3 separate regions of the Homo sapiens genome follow, and regions 1 and 2 are each linked to region 3. Evidence: promoter capture Hi-C in 16 types of primary human blood cells and fetal thymus (Javierre and others, 2016). All regions are on one chromosome and are shown on one strand. Each heading gives the region's core, a stretch centred on a gene start or on the middle of the fragment in contact. The rest is flanking DNA. Distances are from core to core; before and after follow the strand shown. Region 1 overlaps ABTB3 (ankyrin repeat and BTB domain containing 3). Region 2 overlaps ABTB3 (ankyrin repeat and BTB domain containing 3). Region 3 holds the start of CRY1 (cryptochrome circadian regulator 1).

Region 1 (3,940 bases), core at 356-2,855, 490 kb before region 3:
GGCGGAAAACCAATCAGCGCCCCGTGTTATTTCTATTTGGGGCTCCCTGATTGTGGACCCAAGCCTAAGGTGTCCGCTAGCACTCCCTTCCCATCTGCAGCCTCGTCCCTGTCGTCTTTCTGGAGCTCTTTCAGGCTTCAGCTCTGCCCAGGCAACATGCTGCCAAAAGGCTTTGGCACCTAGAAAAGGCTCTCTAAAGAGAGCCAGGTTAACCGGCAGCCTTCCCCCAGACCCAGGCTGGCTGGGCAGCCACCCAGTGGCGCCCACAATTCGAGGCCCTTTGGACCTTGGTCACACCCCTGAAACTCTGAGAGCCTCAAGTTCCCTGCCTGCTAATGGGATCATGGTAGGCTGTTGCAAGCTTGTTGCACGCATTGAGACAATGCCTACAACTGAAGGGCAACTTTCTAAGTGCAACGCATTTGTGCCATCTTCCTATTTCTTCCAGTGATGATAAACTCTGTCCTCACATTAGGATTACTGGAGAAGATTTTGGAAAAAATAATGACACTTGAGTCCTGTCCCAGGGATTCTGATTTAATTGGTATAGGGTGCAGCTGGATACAGGCAGTTTTCAAAACCTCCCCATGTGAATTTAATGTGCATCAGAATTATCTGGAGGGTTTGTTAAAATACGGACTGCTGGGTCTCATTCCCAGAGTTTCTGATTCCATAGATCAGGGGAGGTACCCAGGAAATGCATTCCTAACCAGTTCCTGATACGGATGCTACTGGTCTGCGGACGACATTCTCAAAGAACCTCTGCTCTAAAGTCATCATGAGAGGGCCTGGGAATCATCTGGCTCTATATCCAGAGATGGTGATTGTGTTAGAGTCCAAGAAGATAATTCTGATAGGCAGCCCCTGGGATTCTGATTTAGGTGGGCCAAGTACCACACTTTGAGAAATGCACTACGTAGATGCAAAAGGTTTCCTGCCATTCAGCAGGGGTCAGACTAGCATGAAGCCAGTGGGGTTCCCTGGGTGCAAAACTGAAGGAGGCTAGGTCATGCAAATATGTTCTTGGCATGTCTCTTGCCTCCCCCGGCCCTGGGGCTGCCATTCAGTCCAGCATGGCCACCATGGCATTGAGAAGAGGATGACAGGTAGATGGGGTTATAAGTCAGCCAGCCCCCTTGAGAAATGCAGATGTCATGAGCTTCCCAGAAAGTTTTTGGTGGCAGGTGCCAGTTTTCCTATAGTCAGATCTATTTATCCAATGTTAATAATATTCAGCAGCTCAGCCATTTACATTGATTCATGGTCTCATCTGAATGCCTAGGACCAACCTCTGTGCTAGTTATGATTATGCCCATTTCATTGATCAGGAGAATGATGTTGATCCAGGTTAGGTATCATGCCCTGGACCACAAGACTAGCAAGAGCTGGGAGTCAGACCCAAGTTACTTGACTATATAGCATGTGTAGAGAAACCCCATGTGATATTGACATTCTCTTGTCCAACTTCGTAGCATGCACTCTGTTACCCAGCATGCACCTGTCACCCCAGGGGAGCTGATCAGGTCATGGACTCTTGCTGGCATGCAATGGGCTGATTCCTGTTCATGCAGCTGAGCCTCCTGTCTGTAAGGCTTCAAGCCCTTTAAAAATCCACATCCCTCTTAACCTTCAAACCACAGGCTAAATCCCATTTCTCCCTAGACGTTCCTCCTGACTTTACCTCACTTGAATCCCTCGCATTGTGGGCCTCACCCCAGAGGACTCCTCTGGCCTTACCCGCTGCCTCTGCAAATGCCCCATTAGAATGTAAACTCCACCAGGGCAGGGAATGGGGACTTCTTGGATCACGGCTCCCGCCGCAGCTCCAGGATGGTGCCTGGCACACTGTAGGCACTTAATAAATATTTGCTCATGACACAGACTAAGATTTACCAATTTCTTACTGGGTGAAACTGATAAAATTGAGTTTCTGGACCTGTGGACCTATCTGTGGGGCAGAGTCCCAAGGATTTTCTGCCTGAATCAGCCTGCTTCTTAGGCTGTCTCCCTCATTCTCCCATTCTCTCCATCACCTAAACTGAATCAGGCACTCAATAAACACACGCTGACTTGAAATTGAATTGGATTCTACTGTCTCAGGTGAGCAGAACTTATTTTTGTCACAGTGTCTCCATTATTGTTGGAAACCAGCCCCAAATGCTCAGAGAACTCTCTGGGTTAAGTTTCAGAGGCGCCTCCCCTCATCATTCCTTTGCTCAGTGGCCCCAGAGCACAGTCCACAACCCTGAGTCCCTGGGGGGCTGCATCTCCATCACAGAACTGCCCTTGGGCTGCTGCCTTTCATGTTAGATGCCAAGCGAGGCCCAGGGCACACGGCCAATGCCTGGTGAATGCCAAAGAATAGCAAAAAAAAAAAAAAAAAAAAAAAAAAAAAAAGAAGAAGAAAGAAAAAGGCTCTGCTGCCTTCAAAAATAACACCTTTACCAAGACAGCTGGCAAGCTCCAGAATAAGACACCTTGAACCTCAGGATTCCAGCCTCTCCTGGAATTTTCTATGTACCTATTCTCTCCTTTCAACATTGCCTTCTTCTTGTCACTCTGACCTTAATAGTATATAAGCTCATGAATTCTTTGCCAGTAACTCATTTAAAAATCTTCTTATCTTGTCTACTCAGAGGGGAAAAAATAGCATTATTTGTATGTTTTCTTTGGAGGAATTGGAGATGGGAAAGAATTCGAGGGCTCTGAGTCAAGGAGAGGGTGGAGAATGCTGAAGAAAAAATCTTGCATTCTCTTTATACTTTTTTTTTTTAAGAGAACAATGTTCCACTGGTTGTCTCCTTTATTCTGAAGTTGTTTGAAGTGACTAAAACCCAAAAGAAGCTTGAGGAGCTCATGGTTTAGTGAAGTGGTTCTTAGACTTTGTTGAACATCAGAAGCACATGAAGAACTTGTTAAAATGGCAACAGCCATGATTTTACATCCAGAGTTTGGCTCCCATAAGTCTTGGGGTAGGGCCTGGGCATCTGCATTTTAAATAAGCTCCCCTGGAAATTCTGCAGCAAGCCAGGTTTGTTAATCCCCAACCACGTGGCCTGAGATGAGCAGAGGAGGGAGATGGTCCACTCAAACAGGACAGTGGCCATCTACATCTTCACTGTGGTGTTAGGAGAGGTATATAGGGTGCGACTAGAGGCTCTGGAAGGAAAGAGAAAGCCTTGATGGGCTTCCTGCAGAGTCAAGCCAGCATGTCAGCTCAGGAAGGCTGTTAAGCCCAGATTCAAGTAGGAGATGGAGAACATACACGGACATGGCCTTTCTCTGAAATGGTGAAGAGAGAGCTGGTGATGAGGCTGACCACCCAGGATGGAAAAGGAGTTTGGCTGGGGAGTCTGGGTACTAGAAAGAATGTTACAGGATGTGAGAAAGGCCTGGTTTGGGATTTTGCAGAACTGAATCCCAGCCCTGGATCTGCCCGTAACTCACTGGAGGGCTCCTCTGGCCCATCAACGTTTTGGCCTTCAGTGTCTTCACCTGTAAAGTGGGGTGGGTTTGCATCAGATGATCTATTTCAGGGCTCAGCAAACCTTTTCTGTAAAAGGCTAACTAGTAAGTATGTTAGGCTTTGTGGGCCATAAGGTCAGTCTCTGTTGCTACTACTCAACTCTGACATTGCAGTGAGAACAGCCACAGATGATACACAAATGAAGGAGCTTGGCTGGGTTCCAATACAACTTTACTTACAAATGCAGATGGTAGGTCAGAGGTGGCTACCATTAGCCTGTTCAGTTCTTCCCAATGCTAATATTCTTCGATTCTATTGGAAAAGCCAGTTGCTGGGGCCTTAGGAAGTACCTAGTGTGTAGACTAGGGAAGATGGAGAGAAGACCATGAAGGTCCTAGTGATAGGGACAGAAAGTTTTGGGGAGATCAGAAGATAGGACCCTCCCACAAAGAGGTCATGGTTGGATGCTTGAGC
Region 2 (4,031 bases), core at 108-2,607, 310 kb before region 3:
AGTATCTGATACTAAGTGCTTAATAAATGTTAGCTATTCCTAACTCTCCCTAAATCTAGCCCAGCTCTCCTCCCCTGCCCCTACTGTCTTCCCAGAGGTGAGCCCACTCTTGTCACCCACAGTCAAAAAGCTCCCCAATCATACTGGGTGTTTAAACCATTTCCTGACAATCTTTAAATTTGCAAATTAGAAATGTCAATGCTGGTCTTGAATGAGCCCGATAAGGATGGGACAGCAGCCCACAGGGCTGTGGATTTTAATAAAAGAAAAATAACCAACAATATCAACTTTTTAAAAAGCACTTGATGTACACTTTCCAAATTACTTCTCTGCCTTTCTCTCCTTTATGTGCATTGCAGTTAAATTACCTTTCTCAGAAAATCTCGGCCACACAGAGCACGCCTATCTCCTCACAAAGCCGCACACATTTTTAGCATCTGCTTGGGGTTTTATTGTAGAGAATACAATACACGGCAAGAGACCGTTTATCATATTTGGTCTGCTTGCCCCTCATTTTTCCAGCTGTCAGTTTTATTTATTTCGTTGCAACGACAGGTTTGACGTGGAGGTTGGGGGTTGGGGGGAAGCATTCCAGGACTTTGCAGTCCAGCCTTCCTGCACCCATCCTCCATCACTGTACAACGTTCCTGGGAGGAAAATCCCATACGATATCCCCAGGCATAGATGGGAGAAATCTGGAACAGCAATCCTAGGAGAGCTGGTAGAGCTGAAAATACGCAGGACCTCCCTGAGTCGCCGCCATCACCAGCTGCTTACAATGATCTTCTGGGGGTTCTCAGGAGGCCCAATAGATCCTATTAATGTTCCCAACTCTTCAGCCCTGGCTTCACTCATGCCTCTTGCCATATGACTTTGCAGTTCTTTCCACTAAAGGGGAACTATTTCTCTATCCTTTGACTTGGAGTTTGACCATTTGATTGCTTTTCTGATTACCAACAGAATGAGGCAGAAATGAAGGCACCTGCCCCAGCTCAAGGCTGACGAGGCCTTGCCTGTTCACCGTCTTGCACTTCTGCAGCGCCATGAGAAGCGTGTCCCCTGGTAGCTGCTGGACACACGTGGAGCAGATCTGAGCCCAAACCTCAGCAAGGGGCCAAGCCTTCTTGGATCTGTAGCTTGAAATACAGTGGCCCAGCTGAGCCTGGAATATTTCAGCTGCCTCACCTGACCCACAGATATGTAAGCAATTATAAATAGTTGTTGCTTTTAGTCACTGAGTTTCAGAGTGATTTGTCGTGCAGCAAAAATACAGGAGAGGAGAAACAGCATCCACTGTGTGCTAAGCACTGTGCCAGGTATTTTACATGCATTATTACATTGAAGCCTGCCAAACCCTGGTGAGCTGGGGACTATTTTATGCCCATTTTACAGATGAGCAAACTGAGGCTCAGAGTGACTTGCCCGAGGTCATACAGGGGCAAGCACTGTTGTAAGTGCTTTATGTGTATTAACTCACTGAATCCTCATGACAGTCCTGGGATGGGGGCAATGGTATTTTAAAGATGAGGAAATAGGAAGGGAAAGATTAAGTGGCTTCCCCAAGGTCAAAAGCAGCCAAATTGCAGGGGTAGAGTCGGGACTCAAAGCGCAGGCTTCTCTGGCTCCGGAGCCCAAGCTCAGGGGACACCTAGAGGAACACAGTGTGAGCTGAGGCTGGGGGAGTTTAGGCTTTATACACCAGTGAGTCACAACCAGGGATAAGGATGGTAAGAATCAGAAAATCTCCTTTGTTTTTTTTCAAAGCAACATCTGGAGATCCATGTTTATATTTTGCGTTTTATTTATTTAATGTCTGGCTTCTCCCTGCTAGATTGTAAGCTCCATAAAGACAGGGATTTCTGCCTGTTTTGGTCACTGTCTTATCCCCAGAGCCTACAACAGTACCTGAGCAGGTGCTCTTTAAATAGACTGAAAGAGTAAATGAAGAAATGCTCCGTGAATATTGGCTATGGGTTAGTTGAGACCATCTCATGCTCTGAGCTCACTTGAGGAGCATGCATGGTGAGGTTCCTGGGCTCAACAGCAACCAGACTCCGAGTCCTGGGATGGTGGGACTAACTCTTTAAGCAGAAAAAGTAGAGCATCATTGGTTTTTATTTGTTTTAAGAGAGACAGGGTTTCACTCTGTGGCTCAGGCTGGAATATAGTGGTGTGATCATAGCTCACTACAGTCTCAAACTCCTAGGCTCAAGCGATCCTCCCATCTCAGCCTCCCAAATAGCTGGGACTACAGGCGCATGCTTTCATACCTGGCTGACTGGGACATCTTTAAGGAGCAGGCTAGGAAGTAGCCAGCTCCATTTATGGGGTGCTTCTGGTGCCAGGCACTGTTCTAAGCACTTCGTATGTGAAGCCATAATCTTTGCAACAACCCCATGGGACAGGTACTATCACAACCGTGTGCCCAGCCTGTTTTACAGATGAGGAAAGTGATACCCAGGCAGGTTAAGTGACTTATGCCCCAGCTAAGAGAAGTGGCAAAGCCAGAACTAGAACCCAGGAGTACAACTCAGCTCCCACGTAACCACAACCCTAAGCTGCCCCTCAAACAAACTAGAGGGGAGAAAGTACAGGCTTTCCAAGGTAATCTGGTCCAATGCCTTCGTTTACAGATGGGAAAACTGAGGACACAGAGTAGAAGCATGATACCCAAGATGGAGCTGGTGAGGAGCAGAGTGGGGACCTCCACTCAGGTCTCCAATCGCCTGGCTCAATCCCTCTTTCATGCAGACGATGGGCCCTAGGAGGACAGGAAAGAGAAGAGGCCAATTGCACCAATCCTGGGCAGGAAGACTTCTTTGGCTGGTGGCCATGCCAGGCCATGTGTCTGTTTTCAGCACAGCCCCCCCAGGGACCGGCTTCTCTTCCCAGCATAAGCTGGCAGATCAGATGCCTGCTGCCAGGGCTCCAGCCCAGACTTGAGGATTTCCAAGTGTCTGCCATTCGCAGCTCTCCTGCCATTGCTTGGCAGACAGGACAACCCCGGACAGCCGTGCCAGCTCTGATCCCTTGCCTGCCCCACTGCTCGGAGAGTGGTGCCTTCAGTAAGGATGAAGCTATAGAAAGGAGATGTGGGTATTGATCTAAAGTAGAATATAAGTCAGTAAAAACAGTGACCATTTGACCATTTAATGACAGACTCTTGGATCCTTACCATGACCCTGATAGGTTGCTATTTAATGGATATGGGAACTCAATTGAAGAGCCAAGGTAACACTGCTCTAAGTGATAAACATAACCATTAACAGCACTCACAGTGGCCCGGCCACCGTTTTGGTTGTGCAGTTTATGCCCTGCTTAATTCTAGAGGGCGCCATTCACATAGCCTTCACAGTGACTAGTGCCCTCTAGAGCTGAGCAGTGTACAACCTGGCCTACTGTATGCCATGGTCCAGACAGGGGTGCCTCCCAAGGCTGGTGAATCAAACCAGTGCCTTGTCTACTTCACCCTAAGATCTACTCACCAAAGCAGAATGTTGCAGAAAAACAGCAGGGCCTTGGATCTGCACCAACCTGGGTTTGTATCCTGGATCTGCCACCTCACACCGATGTGAGGCCTCTGGGGAGTCCTTAAACCATGTCTCACTATGTTCATCTGCAAAATGGACAATATTAATAGTGCCTTCCCTGTAGGAGGCTATGAGGTTTCCACAAGCCAAGACATATGAACAGTGTCTCAACACAGCTGGCATTTGGGACACAGTAGCTACTATGATGAGTAAGGCCTGGAGTGAGGAGAGAGAGCTCTGATTGGGGCCGCCTCAGCCAGGGAAGAGGCTGTGCCATCCATCAGGGCAGGCTGTGGCAGTGAAAAAGCACCTGCCTCGAACAAGCAGCAGAGCACCATTAATAAATGCTCCCCAAACCGGTAGAAAACCCGGGTATACATCACTCCTGGAAGCCAGAGGAAGTCCCGGGAGAGCCAAATCCAGCAAGTCATTCGCAGATACTCCATCTTTTGGGGTGCTACATTTTTCGGAGTCGCTTTCAAAGGCAGTCTTGGGCACACC
Region 3 (4,246 bases), core at 159-2,658:
AAACAAAAGAAAACTGAATACAGACCCAGTCCTTGAGAAATCACACTTCAGAGGGAATCAGAGGCACATTATTATGATAATAAGTACTATTACTGAGTTGGTATTGCTAGGAATGGGCACTTTTCAACTAATTTTCACGGTAGTGTGAAAAGTGATGTAACAGAAACATACTTGGAGAACCCAGGGAGGTCCTAAATTTGCCCTAGGGATCAGGAATACTTTCAGAAATTAGTTATTATTTCATCTGAGTCTAAAGGGATGCGTAGAAATATCCTAGGTAGCTCAAAGGTGGTAATATTGAGTACTGGATTCCAAAGAAGAGTATTTTATAGAGGAAAAAACAGCAAAGGTTAAGAGACAAATTGTAAACCCCAGGAGGGGTGGGGTTTTAGTCTGTTTTATTAAGTATCTCCTGTATCTCTAGTGCTTTGAACAGTGCCTAGTTCATTCAAAAAGTAATCATTGAATGAATTTAAGGGCATCATATATCTAAGGGATGCCATGGCCTGCAGTTCACTGTCGCTGGAAAAGTAGACAAACGTCCAGTTTCAAAGAGACCGGTAAACTACATTAAATGTAAGAGACGAGGGGTGAAAGGTTGATGATATATATCGCTAGTATTAAAAAAATTCCAGGAAGTCCAGGAATGCCTGGCATCCGTCCTGCCAATTACCCTTTTCCCCAGAGTATGTACAAGGGGGAGGAGGCACCCAAGGGCCAGGAGAGTGGAGGGGCACAGCTCCACAATCTCCAAAGTAGGGTTCTCTGGCCAAAGCAGGATTGAAGCACATGGTTTGGACTTGAAATGTACGTGGAGCCTCCCACTCTCCTCCTTCCACTCCATCCTCCCCTCACTCTCCGCCCGACTCCACCACTGGCTCCTGAAGGAAACCGGACAATTTCCAGGCCCTCCCCAAATCCCACGGGAGGAATCGCCGAGCGCGCTCCTGCCCGCCGGCCCCGCCCCCTTACCCTCTGGAACGCAGCGAGAGCGCACGCGCGCCTAACGGAGCAGCGCGCGCGCCCGCAAGCTCCCCGCATCCCCGTGCTCATCCGGGTCTCAGCGAGCCTCGGCCAATGGTGGCCGCTCATGGCCCTTGGGGGCGGGGCTAAGCCTTCCCTCACAAGGGGCCTGTGGTCAACGCGATTTGCTTCCAAGGGACGGCCACCAGTCGGCACAGGAAAGGGGCAGAGGCAGTGAGTTCAGCGTGTGGACGAGGGTCAACAAGTTTGGGATCAAGCGGCTGCCGCTCCTCCAAAAGCGACCGAAGCGCGAGCAGATTACCCCTCCGAGCCAGTGTAGTAAACACACTTCAGAAACGTGAGGTGCCGGTGGTCACGAGGGGAGCGCGCCCTCCAATGAGGAGCCGGGGGCGGGGCCGAGGCCGCTGACGCGGCGGCGGCGGCAGAGTCACCCGGGCAGCCTCGGGACCGGTCACCGGCCGGCAACCGTCCAGCGGCCTCGACCACCGCCTCTAGCCTCCGTTCCCGGTCCTTTCTCCCGGGCCGAGAGACAGCGTCGCCGACAGGGGCTCATTCCCCTCCGGTTCTCCTCGGTGACTCACCTCGGGCGGGCCGTTTTGTCTTTAGGGGCCGCCTTGGTGGGGCGAGGTTTCCGTGACGAATCTCCTGGGGCCGTCCGTGCCGGCTCGGGCCGTCGTGGCGGCTCGAGCTCCTGGAACTTGCTCAGGCTCCGGAGGTCCGAGGCCCTCGAAGTTATGCGTCGCCTCCAGGCGGTTGCGGCGGGCGCGGGCTCCTAAAGGGCGTCACACCCGGACTCCGCCGACTAGGCAACCTCCATTCATCTTTCCACTGCGCCTCCGGCGCCCCCGCCTTCTCCGGTCCCCTCCTCGGAGTCATTTTTTCCTGTTCCCCCTCTGCCGCCCTTTCCTCACGCCCCGGGTGAGGCAATTCTCTTGGAAGCGAAGGTGTCGGCTATGAGCCGGAGCCTCCTTCCTTGAATTTCTCCGTGGAGGACCCGCCGCGCCCCCCGGCATGGGGGTGAACGCCGTGCACTGGTTCCGAAAGGGGCTCCGGCTCCACGACAACCCCGCCCTGAAGGAGTGCATTCAGGGCGCCGACACCATCCGCTGCGTCTACATCCTGGACCCCTGGTTCGCCGGCTCCTCCAATGTGGGCATCAACAGGTGGCGGTGAGTCACAAGCCCGTGGGAAATGGATTTGGGTGTTTAATGAGTCTGATGTTAATGAATTCCATGCGATCCGCCAAATCTGTGAATTTAGACGTGGGACTGTCTTGCTTATACCGCTTACGAATTTTAGGTGCCCTAAGTATTAAATAGAATTGACTTAATACTTCTCTGGCCAAAGAGTACTGACGACCTGAAACACTCGGTCTTCATCAGTGAGTTATGTGTCTTTCTGTGCTAACTGGAGCTCCTCCCCTGAATTTGTGGAGAATTCTTAGTGCTGGAGTTAAAGAAACACCTTTCCTGTCCTTAGTGGCCATTGTATATGGATTCCCTTGGCCTTTTTGTGGCATTCGGAAGGATTGTGATGTTTCCTGTTTACGTTTGTGTCTAGGTAACTCATAGTATGGAGAAAAATCATTCATTCAGTACAGCAGGCTCCAGATCCAGTGTTCTTCCACCTTGAGGTTACTGTGGGAAAAGCAAGGGAAACAGCATTATCTGGTTTCTCTGCTCGGTTCTTTTTCTCAACTCCTCCTTGTGGTTGCCGAGACAAAGCACAGTTTTTCTTTCTAGGCAAGTTGTAGTCCTTCTAGGGATCAGAGCACTGAAAGAAATCTTAGAGATGCTTTATGATCTTTTCCTGAAACACCAGGCTACATGATTGTTAGGCCCCCTGGTGGAAATAAAAGCATAGCTCAACAGATAGACTCTTGATCACTTAGCATGTGCCAGGCACTGATTTAAATGCTAGGGATATAGCAGTGAGTGAAAGACAGAAAGTCATGTCTTCAAGCAGAAAGTAAAATATGTAGTATTTTAGGTGGTGATAAGTATTGTGGAAAAAAATAGAGCAGAGTAAAGGGATAAAGAATACAAGGGTAGGGATGGGGTTGCAATTTTAAGTATGATCGGGGGAAAAGTCACAGAGAAGGTGACACTTGAGCAGACCTGAAGGAGGTGGTGGGATGCAGATATCTAAGGGAAGACCATTCCAGGCAAAGGGAAGAGTAAGGGAAAAGGCAGAAATATGCTTGACCTTTGGAAGGAACAGCAGAAGAATCCAGTATGTCTGGAGCAGAATAAGTGAGGGAAAAATAGTAGACGATGAGGTCAGAGTTGACTTAGGGCCAGATTGAAGAGAGCCTTATAAGCAGTTTTCAAGATTTGGGTTTTTACTTAGTGAAATGGGAATAACTGCAGGATTATGAGCAGAGAAGTAATGTGATCTGACATAAGTTTGGAAAAGAATTTTTCTGCTTGTGGTTCTGAATTGGGGAGTGGAGGTGGACAAGAAGCAGGAAGTCCAATTAAGAAGCTGTTGGCATTCATCCAGGTGAGAGATGATAACGGCTTGAATCATAGTAATAATCGTGGACGTGGTGAGAAATAAACAGATGCTGGTTATATTCTGAAGGCAAAATACAGGGTATTTGTTGGCAGATTGGATATGTAGTGAGAGAGAAAGAAAAGGAGTTAGGCTGGGCGCGGTGGCTCATCCCTGTAATCCCAGCACTTTGGGAGGCTGAGGCCAGGAGTTCGAGACCAGCCTGGCCATCGTGGCAAAACCCTGTCTCTATTAATACTGAAAATATAAAAATTAGGTGAGCATGGTGGCGCATGCCTGTTATCTCAGCCACTCAGGAGGCTGAGGCACGAGAATCGCATGAACCTAGGAGACGGAGGTTGCAGTGAGCTGAGATCGTGCCACTGCACTCCAGCCTGAGTGACAGAGTACTCTGTCGCAAGAAAAAAAAAAAAGGACTTATAGTTTGGTGCTATATAAAAAGCACCAAAATTCAGTGCTTTTTATATAGTAGCAGTTTAGTTACTGTTTGAGAAAATTTTTGGCTTGAGAAACTGGAAGGATGGGGCTACACTTTGCTAAGAAAGTGAAGCCAGCTGGAGAAGCCATTGGGAGGGTGATTGGAGTTCTCTTTCATTAAGTCATTAAGTTTGAGATGTATTTTACACATTCAAATGGAGATAGCAAATAGGCAGTTGGATGTATCTGGAGCTCAAGACAGAGATCCAGGCAGGAAGTATAAATTGGAGAATTCATTAGTTTATAGATAATATATAAAGCCATTTATTCA

What was found. The method cuts DNA at HindIII sites, captures the fragments that hold promoters and counts their contacts. A CHiCAGO score of 5 or more calls a contact.
Region 1: a contact is called between a fragment that was not itself captured here and the fragment with the promoter of CRY1 in region 3, in 1 of 17 cell types (naive CD4 T cells). The highest score is 5.9, in naive CD4 T cells.
Region 2: a contact is called between a fragment that was not itself captured here and the fragment with the promoter of CRY1 in region 3, in 2 of 17 cell types (activated CD4 T cells and naive CD8 T cells). The highest score is 6.4, in activated CD4 T cells.

The regions. Positions count from the first base shown.
Region 1 is chr12:107,576,841-107,580,780 of GRCh38, reverse strand. The region is part of intron 3 of ABTB3 (ankyrin repeat and BTB domain containing 3); the gene reads right to left. Among named protein-coding and RNA genes, the nearest start is that of PWP1, 110 kb to the left of the region's middle. The HindIII fragment of the contact is 2,483 bases long and covers 364-2,846 here.
Region 2 is chr12:107,404,528-107,408,558 of GRCh38, reverse strand. All of the region lies in intron 1 of ABTB3 (ankyrin repeat and BTB domain containing 3), which reads right to left. Among named protein-coding and RNA genes, the nearest start is that of ABTB3, 88 kb to the right of the region's middle. The HindIII fragment of the contact is 7,157 bases long and covers 1-4,031 here.
Region 3 is chr12:107,090,711-107,094,956 of GRCh38, reverse strand. CRY1 (cryptochrome circadian regulator 1) reads left to right here and starts at 1,408. Exons shown (of 13, transcript NM_004075.5): 1 at 1,408-2,153. The coding sequence starts at 1,996. RefSeq lists silencers at 937-1,016, 1,347-1,576 and an enhancer at 1,117-1,266. The HindIII fragment of the contact is 9,786 bases long and covers 1-4,246 here.